3 separate regions of the Homo sapiens genome follow, and all the other regions are linked to region 1. The links are contacts of gene promoters, found by promoter capture Hi-C in human tissues and cell types (Jung and others, 2019). All regions are on one chromosome and are shown on one strand. The core of a region is centred on a gene start or on the middle of the fragment in contact, and the rest is flanking DNA. Distances in the headings are between cores, read along the strand shown.

Region 1 (4,272 bases), core at 939-3,438:
TCTCTCCACTGTTCAGTCTTCTCATGTTGTTTTATATCTACTGTCCAGGGTTTTTAGCTGTACTTAGCAGGAGAAATGGGGGGAAATACTTCTACTTCATCTTTCCAGAAGTAGAATGCATACCCTATTGTTCTAATTTGCTTTTTTTTAATTAGTGAAGTTGAGTATCATTTTATCTGTTCACTGGACATTTTATTTCCCTCCTCTAGAATTGCCTGTCTCTTCGTACATACTTTTGTCTACTGTTTCTACTCAATTAACTATATTTTTATTAATGATTTGTAGTTCTTTTGTTTTTTCTTTTGAGACAAAGTCTTGCTCTGTTGCCCAGGCTGGAGTGCAGTGGTGCAATCTCAGCTGACTGCAACCTCCACCTCCCAGGTTCAAGAGATTCTCCTACCTCAACCTCTTGGGTAGCTGGGATTACAAGCGTCCACCACCACACCTGGCTCATTTTTGTAATTTTAGTAGAGTCGGGGATTCACCATGTTGGTCAGGCTGGCCTTGAACTCCTGACTTCAAGTGATCCTCTTGCCTTGGCCTCCCAAGGTGCTGGGATTATAGACATGAGCCACCGCACCCAGCCTAGTTCTTTATATATTCTGAATATTATTCCTTTGTCAATTTATATGTTGCATATATTTTCCAAATCTGTTACTTATTTTGCTTATAACGGTTTTGTCACCCAGAGGCCTTTAAATTCTAATGCAGTCAGCTTGTTGTCTTTTAATAATGAAAATATAAGAACTATACAAATATGCGGGCGGAAGATGGCAAAGGGAGCTGGTGCTTGTGCAAGTTGTTGAGGTGTGCTCTGTGGAATGATGGCTGTCACAGACACTGTCAAGCAGGAGGTTGCCCTGGCTGTGCACATGCTGCAAAGCATGCATGTGAACGTGATTCTGATCACGGGGGACAACTGGAAGACAGTCAGAGCCTTTGCCACCCAGGTTGGCATCAACAAAGTCTTTGCAGAGGTGTTGCCTTCACACAAGGTGACCAAGGTTCAGGAGCTCCTGAATGAAGGGAAGAAAGTCGCCATGGTGGGGGACGGGGTCAATGATTCCCTGGCCTTGGCCCAGGCAGACTTGGGCATTGCCACTGGCACTGGCACGGATGTGGTCATCGAGGCAGCCAACGTCATCCTCATCAAAAATGATTTGCTGGATGTGGTGGCTAGCATTCATATTTCCAAGATGACTGTCCAGAGGATATGCATCAAACTGGTCCTGGCGCTGATTTATAACCTAGTGGGCATACCCATTGCTGCAGGAGCAAGCTTTCCAGATGAGTTGAAGATATGTGCATGGGCGGGAGATGATGACTTATTGCAGGGCAAGGCGTCATCCGTGTTGAAGGAGTGCCAGTGTTTCAGAAATGGACACAGAGCAGGTAAGTTTGATGGACAGGTAAGAGAATCACTCTCTATGTGCCAGCACTGTTCTAAGAGTCCTGGATCTTCTGGGGATGAGATTAGCGTTTTTCAGTTGTACATGGGACAGCTGAGGCTCATGCTAGGGAGTGGTGAGCCCTTTCCTGGAAGAAGTTAATCTAAAAAGCATAATCTGTCTCATTTGGGAGGAGCTAAATAAATATCTCTTCAATGAAGCAAAGGTCAATCAGAAAATTTGTATTTTAGCTATAAAATTACCTATCAGAATTTACCATAGGGCATAATCTTAGTCAAGCACCCAAATTCATTATTTCAGCCACAGATACTGAAACACCAAAGGGATAAGGGGGCAGGTATTTCAGTTAGCTACTGCTGCATAACAAATGACCCCAAAGCTTAGTGACTTAAAACAATGATTTGTTATTCCTTATCATTCTGTCAGCTGGGAGGTTCTTCTGCCCGCCCCACCTGGGGTCATGCACAAGGCTACATTTAGCTAGGGTGTCAGCTTGGGATGGGCATAGCTGGGATGCTGGGTCACCTGAGTCTTTCTCACCATGTGGTACTGTTTTAAAATATAGGTTTTAGCGCTTCCTCAGGATGTAAAGTGTAACAAAGGTACCGGGGTGGGCAGTGTGGGTCTGTGAGGCCTACGGGTGCCCGCGTCCCCTAACTCCCCCCGCAGCCGGCTCCGCAGTGGTACGCTCCGGTTGCCCGTTAGGGATTCAGGTTCCAAACGGAATGCTGCGTCTTCTCCAGCGTTTGTTGTGGCCGAGGTTACTGCAGCAACCGCCAGAGCAGCCTTGGCGCTACGGAGGAGCCTAGGGCTAACCCTCAGCCATACCTGGGGCTGGTCCTGGAGTTGCTACGCAGGGTTGTGGCAGCACTGACTGAAGGTATGAGACCCGATTCTCATCCTTATGGTTTTCCATGGGAATTGGTGATACGTGCAGCTGTTGCTGGATTTTTTGCTGTTCTCTTCTTGTGGAGAAGTTTTAGATCAGTTACGAGTCGGCTTTATGTGAGAAGAGAGAAAAAGTTTGCTGTGGCACTTTCTGGACTAATTGAAGAAAAATGTAAACTACTTGAAAAATTTAGCCTTGTTCAAAAAGAGTATGAAGGCTATGAAGTAGAGTCATCTTTAAAGAATGCCAGCTTTGAGAAGGAGGCAACAGAAGCACAAAGTTTGGAGGCAACCTGCGAAAAGCTGAACAGGTTCAATTCTGAACTTGTGCATGAAATACTCTGTCTAGAAAAAGAGTTAAAAGAAGAGAAATCTAAACATTCTGAACAAAATGAATTGATGGCGGATATTTCCAAAAGGATACAGTCGCTAGAAGATGAGTCAAAATCCCTCAAATCACAAGTAGCTGAAGCCAAAATGACCTTCAAGAGATTTCAAGCGAATGAAGAACGGTTGGAGATAGAAATACAAGATGCTTGGAAAGAAAATTCTGAACTTCAGGAAAGCCAGAAACAGCTTTTGCAAGAAGCTGAAGTATGGAAAGAACAAGTGAGTGAACTTATTAAACAGAAAAGAACATTTGAAGACTCCAAAGTACATGCAGAACAAGTTCTAAATGATAAAGAAAATCACATCAAGACTCTGACTGAACGCTTGCTAAAGATGAAAGATGGGGTTGCTATGCTTGAAGAAGATGTAACGGATGATGATAACTTGGAATTAGAAATGAACAGTGAATCGGAAGATGGTGCTTACTTAGATAATCCTCCAAAAGGAGCTTTGAAGAAACTGATTCATGCTGCTAAGTTAAATGCTTCCTTAAAAACCTTAGAAGGAGAAAGAAACCAAATTTATATTCAATTATCTGAAGTTGATAAAACAAAGGAAGAGCTTACAGAGCATATTAAAAATCTTCAGACTGAACAAGCATCTTTGCAGTCAGAAAACACACATTTTGAAAGTGAGAATCAGAAGCTTCAGCAGAAACTTAAAGTAATGACTGAATTATATCAAGAAAATGAAATGAAACTCTACAGGAAATTAATAGTAGAGGAAAAATGCCGGTTAGAGAAAGAAGAGAAACTTTCTAAAGTAGACGAAATGATCAGCCATGCCACTGAAGAGCTGGAGACCTACCGAAAGCGAGCCAAAGATCTTAAAGAATTTGAGAAAACTATTCATTTTTATCAAAAGAAGATTATTCTCCATGAGAAAAAAGCACATGATAATTGGTCGGCAGCTTGGACTGCTGAAAGAAACCTCAATGATTTAAGGAAAGAAAATGCTCACAACAGACAAAAATTAACTGAAATAGAGTTTAAAATAAAACTTTTAGAAAAAGATCCTTATGGACTTGATGTTCCAAATACAGCATTTGGCAGACAGCATTCCCCATATGGTCCCTCACCATTGGGTTGGCCTTCATCTGAAACGAGAGCTTCTCTCTATCCTCCAACTTTGTTGGAAGGTCCTCTCAGACTCTCACCTTTGCTTCCACGGGGAGGAGGAAGAGGCTCCAGAGGCCCAGGGAATCCTCCGGACCATCAGATTACCAAAGAAAGAGGAGAATCAAGCTGTGATAGGTTAACTGATCCTCACAGGGCTCCTTCTGACGCTGGGCCCCTGGCACCTCCGTGGGAACAGGACTATAGGATGATGTTTCCTCCACCAGGACAATCATATCCTGATTCAGCTCTCCCTCCACAAAGGCAAGACAGATTTTATTCTAATTGTGCTAGACTCTCTGGACCAGCAGAACTCAGAAGTTTTAATATGCCTTCTTTGGATAAAATGGATGGGTCAATGCCTTCAGAAATGGAATCCAGTAGAAATGATACCAAAGATAATCTTGGTAATTTAAAGGTGCCTGATTCATCTCTCCCCGCTGAAAATGAAGCAACTGGCCCTGGCTTTG
Region 2 (3,766 bases), core at 1,034-3,533, 73 kb before region 1:
CATCTGAATTAACTTTTCAGCACGATTCATGAAATGTTAATCAATCTTGTTTGTTTTTATAGTGGAGGGTGTGTGTAAGCATGAGAGTGTGTGTTTGTGTGTGTGTACCTAAGCTTGTGAGTTTATGTGAACATGAACCCAGAGGACTTTTTTTTTTTTTTTTAAAGAACTAAGAGTGTCTTTAGGGGTCATCTAATCCTGTGCTTTCAAACTCTTTATAGACAGCATAATCTTTTCTTCAGTGACATTTTAGCAGACCTCGGACACGTATAAAAGACAAAAGTAGAGCTCTGGCTCCAGGGACACGGAACCCCCGTCTGTCTCTTGGTCCTTCTCTCTTTCCACCTGCCTCCCACCTGGACTTCTAAGGCTCCACAGAACGCAGAGCTTCTGGGCACCTGGATGAACGGTTCACATGGGAGTCAACAGTGGCTCAGAGAGGCCGGGATTTGCTCAGAGGAATACACGCAACTGGTTTGGAAGCTGGGGTTTTGATACCTGTCCTGGGATCTTTGAACCCGTCATGTTATATAATTCTTTCTTCATCACTATCATAGGCTCTCTGAGGATGGCAGGAGTTTAAAAGCTAATAGTCATAGTAGCATCTGTGTTAAGATTCAAGGAGCTATGGGCTTGTCATCCTTTGACTCAGTACACAGGATACTCTTTTTGTGCAGACAAATATGTCCTTCTTCCTAAAGTGCTTTTTAAACAGAGCTACATAAAAAAAGGTTTTTTTAAAAGCTTATTTCACCTCATGTCCATTAGGATGATAATCATAAAAGTCAAGAGATAAAAAATGTCAGCAAGGGTGTGGAGAAAAGGGAAAAATTGTACATTGTTGGTGGAAATGTAGATTGGCGCAAGCATTATGGAAAACAATATGGAGGTTCCTAGACAAATTAAGAAAAACCTAAGCCACATGGTGAGTTCACATCTCTACAAAAAACTAAAAAATTAGCCCAGCATGGTGGCACATGTCTGTAGTCTTAGCTACTTGGGAGGCTGAGGTGGGAGGATGACTTGAGCATGGGAGGTTGAGGCTACAGTAGCCATGATCATGCCACTGCACTCCAGCCTGAGCAATGAAGTGAAACCCTGTCTCAAAAAAATTGATTAAAAATAGAATGACCATTTAACATAGTAATCCCTCTTCTGATTATATACCCAAGGAGATGAAATCACCACCTCATAAAGATATCTGCACACCCATGTTTGTTGCAGCATTATTCACAATAGTCAAGATATGGGAACAACCTAAGTGTCCATCAATGGACAAATGGATAAAGAAACAGATATATGTGTCCTCTGACTCAGTACACAGGACACTCTTTATCTATCTATCTATCTATCTATCTATCTATCTATCTATCTATCATCATCTAGCTATCCATCCAATAGAATGTTATTCAGCCTTAAAAAAGGAAATCCTGCCATTTGCCACAACTTGGATGGAACTGGAGGATATTACACTAGATGAAGTAAGCCAGGCATAGAAAGAAAAACATTTTATGATATCACTTGTATGTAGAATCTAAACCAAAATTAAAGTCAAATATACAAACACAGAGAATAAAACAGTAGTTACCAGGGGTTAGGGAAAAGGGGAACAAATGGGAAGATGTAGGTCAGAGGTTATCAAGTAGCATATATTAGAATGAATAAGCCTAGAGCTCTAATGTACAGGAGGACTGTAATTAATAAAATTTTATGCATTTAGGAGTCCTGTTAAATGAGTAGATTTTAGCTGCTCTTACCAAACAAAGGGGCAGGGCAATGGGGATAACTCTGTGAGATGCTGAATATATTTGTTTTATTATAGTAACCTTTTTACTATCTATATGTATCCCATAACATAATGTTGTATACCTTAAATATACACATCATATTTTAAATTTTATTTTTAAAAGTAAATGCTATTGTGTATCTTTTTTAATGTAAAGATTTATTCCATATAAAAACTTTTAAAAAAATGGTTCAGGAAGAGGCAAAATGAAATGTTTTTACTTGCTCATTGGGGAAAATGTTCACGGAACTTCAGCACCACCAGCAGAGTAAGCTGACAGTAGCATACAGAAGTATGAGGGCTCCTTGGTATGACCTCGGTGCACTGAGATTTTCTGGGAAAATCTGTATCAGTAATCATAGTTGTATAGCTCCAGGGTCCAACTCTAGATTGCAAAATATTTCCCCTTTTGGACTTCAACTCAACAATAATTCAACAGTGTGACAACTCAGTAGGAAACGGACCTTGAACAAGAGTGATAGGTATCTTTAGCTTGGCCTGGGCTGCCCAGGAAGCTTAGTGGCAGATAAAGTAATCACACCCTATGGCCTTCCGCTCTCACAAAAGAATCACTTGCATTGTGCAAGCCAAGCATATTTCACACAAAACCTTGTTTCCACTTTTCCTCTAAAGTGGTCTTTGGCAGTTTTTTCAGTTCCTAACATTCTGTTTTGGTCACAAACAAACCTCTGCTGTGCACTTTATGGGTGTGCTGAACCACTGAGTATTAGAGCTGAAATCGGCCTCAGAGATCATCAAATCCAATCCTGTCATTTCATAGCAAAGGAGTCAGAGGTAGAGGGAGAGGAGATGACTTGTCCAAAGTCACACAGTGAGAGAAAAGCAGAACCAGGTCAGGAGCTGAGCTGCTGTCCTGATGTGAAGCACTTTTTCATGACTCTATGCCACTTCTGAATTAGCCACAACACCATGAGGGGAGATGTCTTCCATATGGCTCAGGGGTGTGGTATTTGCCGTCAGACAATAGTTATTTATTGAGCACCCACAACATGCTAGGGAAACCCTTCAATAGGCTTACAGTCTGGAGGGGAAGACATACATTAAACAAAGAATCTTAAATGAGTAAGTGCATTAGTGTTGCCAACCATTCAGTGAAGAATGCATTAGTGTTGCCATGGGAATGTTATCTCCAGGGCTGATTGGGGCTATGTCCAGGGCCAAATCTGATTGGTTGATCCTGTGAGTTAGTAGTTAAATATTAATATGTTGGCTCACCCTAGGTTATGGGCCAAAGATTGTTTACATAATGCACGGGTTACTTCACCCATCTGATTCTGCTCCTCTTGGTTTCTTCTTCCTGATGATTCTACCTCCAGGAAGACAGGTAATGCAAAAGAACTAGAGTTCCTACAAACAGTCTTGTTCTCGCTCAGAACTGCTTTGACAGCTGGAGTAGTGAAGTCAACATTTGAATTATCTGTGAGTCCCATGTATTTGTGCTCTCCTCAGGATGGAGCAGGCTGGATTTTTTAACCTGATATCCCATTTACACAGGTCTTACACTCCTTACATTGATATCAAAACTAAAACAGTGACTTCAAAATTGAACACAAACCTGAATTTTGAATATTAATCACTCCTCGTCTCCAACACTCTCTTCCATCCCTACTAACATTTTTGCAAGCCATTCCTAATTCAACTGCTCTTCCAAATGCAGTCAGCACCGAGGAAGAAGTCCTCTCATGAATCTTTTTGGAAAAGGAGCTCTCATGCCCAAATTCCTTATAATTCCAGGAGCATGTCAAGAAGAAATTGTTAAAGAAAATTTCTACACAGTGGACTTCCCATTGGAGAATGAATCACAGGACATTTTTCTAAATCAAGAATGTTTGAATTTGGGGTGTGGGTCACACCTGGAGAAGCCCTCCTCTTCGTCTCTTCCTGGTTTACTTTCTATCCTGGGAATTTCCCCTTCCTCTTTCTTTTCCATCTAGTTTGTGAGGTTTCCCTGAACCCCTT
Region 3 (4,324 bases), core at 1,593-4,092, 97 kb before region 1:
AGCTCGGGAGGTAAATGGAGACACATTACATAGGATTGCCAGATAAAATACAGAACATCCAGTTATATTTGAATTTCAGAGAAACAACAAGTACTTTTTTAGTATAAGTATACTCATAGTAAAGTAAGTAGGACATGCTTATATTACAAAATTACTTGTTGTTTCTCTGCAATTCAAATTTAACTAGATGTTCTCTATTTTTACTTGCTAAATTTGACAACTCTACATTAACAACTGTATTTCCCTGATTCTGTTTTCATCTGTTATTAAAGAATCTCTAATCTCTCTTAAGAATCTTTCCTGTCCATGGGAAGACTGAGATATCTTCCCACTGACTTTACTGATACTTTAAATTACAGTTTATAATAATAAAAATAAAGAATTTTTTTCTTTTGAAAAATCTCAACCTGTAAAGAAGTTTTAAACATCTGACACACTTCATAAGGCTTTTGAGGTAATCAAATGAAACAATATATTTATTTTTTAGGTGGCTAGATAGATGTTCATGCATAAAATTTCAAATAATCCCCAAAGTTTTGAATTCTCAATTCTTAGGATAATACTCTACTTTGGCCTCTTTCATGAAAATTTACTAAGGTTTTACTAGAATCATTATCAGGATTTTTTCCAAGGGTGCACACAAACATCACTTATTAGCAGCTTCAATTTCTTCTCTCCTGCTTTGGCTTTTGCTTCTTGAGACCATGTCTTCTGGTGAATCTTCTGATACCCGGGAGGATCCATGAATGTACCCTCATGATGCATTATTTTCCTTTGAAGCTGCTCCAGTTGCATTGCTCCAGTGCCAAACCGGGGACTCAGGGCTGGTGGCTTTTGATTATCAAGGGCTTTCTTCAATATGTGACATAGTAAGTGACAGCAAGAGCTTTGGTGTCAGAGAGATGAGAAATCTGGACCTGGTTTCATCACCTTCTAGCTGTGTAACCTTAGGCAGCTTTCTTCATCTCAATAGGCATCAGTTTCTCATGGTAAAACAAGATACCACCTACAGCTATATCTACTTTAAATTATTATTCAGGAATTATTATTACTATTTATAATTATTATTTGAGGATTAAATCAGATAATGCATAAAGATACTTAGTACAGCATCTAGCATCATGTAACTTTAAGTATTAAAGATAAATTATCTTGAAGAAGTAATTTAAAAGCACATAGATGTAAGATTAGTTTAATAAATAACAGTACGTTCACACAAAGGAGTTTTTTAAATGGAGTTTAAAAATTTAAAATGATCTCTGTAAACTTATATGGAATTATTTCTAAGATATATTGGTAAATTGGGGGAAAAAGCAAGTACCAAAAAGAGTATATATTTTATAGTGCCTTTTGCATGATAAATGAAGGGAAATAAGAGGCAGAACTTCTGCAATGGTGGAGTAAGGACCCCTGAAAACCCTCTTCCCCTAAGAGGAAACAAGAAAAATTATCCAGGGCACAGCCAAGATGGCCGACTAGAAGCAGCTAGGGTGCATGGTTCTCACAGAGAGGAATGAAAGGGGCGAGTAAATGCAGCACCTTCAACTGAAACATCCAGGTACTTGCATTGGAACTAATAAAGGAAACAACTTAAAGAGAACGGAGAAAAGCAAGGCAGGATGATGGCCCACCTGGGAGTGACACGGAGGCAAGGGAACCTCCCCTGCCCAGGGAAGTGGCGAGTGAATGTGCCACCCTGGGAAACCATGCTCCTCCCACGGATCTTTGCAACCCTCAGGTCAGGAGATCCCCTCAGAAGCCACTCCACCAGGGCCTTCAGTCCGGCACAGAGAGCTATGTGGAGTCTCACAGAGCAGCCACTGAGGCATATGTGGAGACCTGGAGCTTTCGATACTCCGGCTCCCGGCTTCCCAGCAAAAGTAACTGCAACTCTAGCAAAGCGGGAGAATAGACCCCCGTACATAACCCTAAGAAAGAGGCTGAATCCAGGGAGTGGAGCAGTCACTTCCATTGCACCTCACAGGATAAGACCCACTGGCTTGGAATTTCAGCCACCAGCAGCAGTGCTGCGCCTCCCTGGGACAGAGGTCCCTGGGGGTGGGGCGGGGGGGAGCACCATCTTTACTGTTTGGGCGACTCAGCCATTCCACCCTACGAACTTTGGAGAGTCCAAACTGATGGAGGGAGGAAGAGATCCCCCAGCACAGCACAGCTGCTCTACCCAAACTTGACCCCACTGCATTTTTAAGCGGGTCCTGGATCTGTTCCTCCTCACTGGGCTTGACCTCCCAACTGGGGCCTCCAGCCACCTCCACTAGTCTTCTCCAGCTGACAGACATTTGAATTCTCCCTGAGACAGAACTCCCAGAGGGACAGGTGGGCTGCCATCTTTGCTGTTTGGGTGACTTAGCCGTTCCAGCCTAAAGGCTTTGGAAAACCCAAGTCGACCAGGGCAGAAGCAGTACCCCAGCACAACACAGCTGCTCTACAGAAGCTTCTTTAATTGGATCCCTGATCCCTTTTCTCCTCACTGGGTGGAACCTCCCAACCAGGGCCTCCAGCCACCCCTGCTGGTGTTCTCTGGCTAACAGAAATTTGAATTCTCCCTGGGACAGAGCTCCCAGCGGGAGGGGCAGGCTGCCAACTTTGCTGTTTGGGCAACTCAGCCATTCCACCCTGCAGGCTTTGGAGTGTCCAAACTGATGGAAGGAGGAAGGGATCCCCCAGCACAGCACAGATGCTCAACGAAAGCATGGCCAGACTGCTTCTTTAAGTGGGACCCTGATCCCGTTCCTCCTGACTGATTGGGCAAGACCTCCCAACCAGGGTCTCCAGCCACCATGTACAGGTGTGTTCGGACCAGCAACAGGTCCGTACCTCCCTGGGTTGGAGCTCCCAAAGGAAGGGGCAGGCTGCCATCTTTGCTGTTTCACAGCCTTCACTGGTGATGCCTCCAGGTACTGGAAAATCCGAGGTGACTAGGGACTAGAGTGGACCCCCAGCAAACCACAACAGCCCTATGGAAAGGTGGCCAGACTGTTAAAAGAAAAAAACGCTCCATCCAAGGGTCAGCAACCTCAAAGATTGAAGGTAAATAAGCCCGCACAAATTTGAAAAAGAAGCAGTGCAAGAATGCTGAAAACACAAAAAGTCAGCATGCCCTCTTTTCTCTAGAGGACAGCATCACCTCTCCAGCAAGGGTTCAGAAGCAGGATGAGGCTGAGATGGCTGAAATGACAGAAGTAGAATTCAGAATATGGATATGATGAAATTGCCAAGAGTAATTGCAACAACAGCAAAAGTTGACAAATGGGATCTAATTAAACTAAAGAGCTTCTGCACAGCAAAAGAAACTATCATCAGAGTGAACAGGCAACCTACAGAGTGGGAGAAAATTTTTTCAACCTATCCATCTGACAAAGGCCTAATATGCAGAATCTACAAGGAACTTAAACAAATTTACAAGAAAGAAAAATCAATCTCATTAAAAAGTGGGCAATCTCATTACTGGGTATATAGTCAAAAGAAAATAAATTGTTCTACCAAAGACACATGCACTCGTGTGTTCATTACAGCATTATTCACAATAGTGAAGACATGAAATAAACCCAGGTGCCCATCAGTGATGGATTGGATAAAGAAAATATGGTGCAATCAAAAAACTCATCCACCACAATGAAGTAGGCTTCATCTCTGGGATGCAAGGTTGATTCAACATATGCATATCAATAAATGTGATTCATCACATAAACGGAACTAAAAACAAAAACCACATGATTATCTTAATAGATGAAGAAAAGATTTTTTATAAAATTCAACATTCATTTATGTTTAAAACTCCCAATAAGCTGGATATTGAAAAAATATACCTCAAAATAATAAGAGCCATCTATGACAAACCCACAGCCGACACCATACTAAATGGGCAAAAGCCGGAAGCATTCCCCTTGAAAACAGGCAAAAGACAAGGATGCCCTCTCTCACCACTCCTATTCAACATAGTACTGGAAGAGGAGGTCAAGCTATCCCTGTTTGCAGATGACATGATCTTATATCTAGAAAACCTCATTGTCTCAGCCCCAAAACTTCTGAAGCTGATAAACAACTTCAGCAAAGTCTCAGGATACAAAATCAATATGCAAAAATCACTAGCATTCCTATACACCGACAACCATCAAGCCAAGAGCCAAATCAGGAATGAACCCCCATTCACAATTGCCACAAAAAGATTAATATACCTAGGAATATGGCTGATTGGGGAGGCGAAAGATCTCTATATGGAGAACTCCAAACCTCTGTTCAAAGAAATCAGAGATGACACGAACAAAGAAAACCTTTCCATGCTCATGGATAGGAAGAATCA

The links. The method cuts DNA at HindIII sites, captures the fragments that hold promoters and counts their contacts. A contact is called where the count stands out against the background at its distance.
Region 2: a contact is called between a fragment that was not itself captured here and the fragment with the promoter of CTAGE1 in region 1, in 2 of the 25 tissues and cell types used here (dorsolateral prefrontal cortex and mesenchymal stem cells).
Region 3: a contact is called between a fragment that was not itself captured here and the fragment with the promoter of CTAGE1 in region 1, in 4 of the 25 tissues and cell types used here (IMR-90 fibroblasts, bladder, dorsolateral prefrontal cortex and 1 more).

The regions. Positions count from the first base shown.
Region 1 is chr18:22,415,831-22,420,102 of GRCh38, reverse strand. It overlaps CTAGE1 (cutaneous T cell lymphoma-associated antigen 1), which reads left to right and starts at 2,188. Exons shown (of 1, transcript NM_172241.3): 1 at 2,188-4,272. The coding sequence starts at 2,292. It also overlaps the pseudogene ATP7BP1. The HindIII fragment of the contact is 3,989 bases long and covers 1,535-4,272 here.
Region 2 is chr18:22,489,109-22,492,874 of GRCh38, reverse strand. No RefSeq gene overlaps it. Among named protein-coding and RNA genes, the nearest start is that of CTAGE1, 73 kb to the right of the region's middle. The HindIII fragment of the contact is 3,708 bases long and covers 430-3,766 here.
Region 3 is chr18:22,513,132-22,517,455 of GRCh38, reverse strand. No RefSeq gene overlaps it. Among named protein-coding and RNA genes, the nearest start is that of CTAGE1, 97 kb to the right of the region's middle. The HindIII fragment of the contact is 5,805 bases long and covers 1-4,324 here.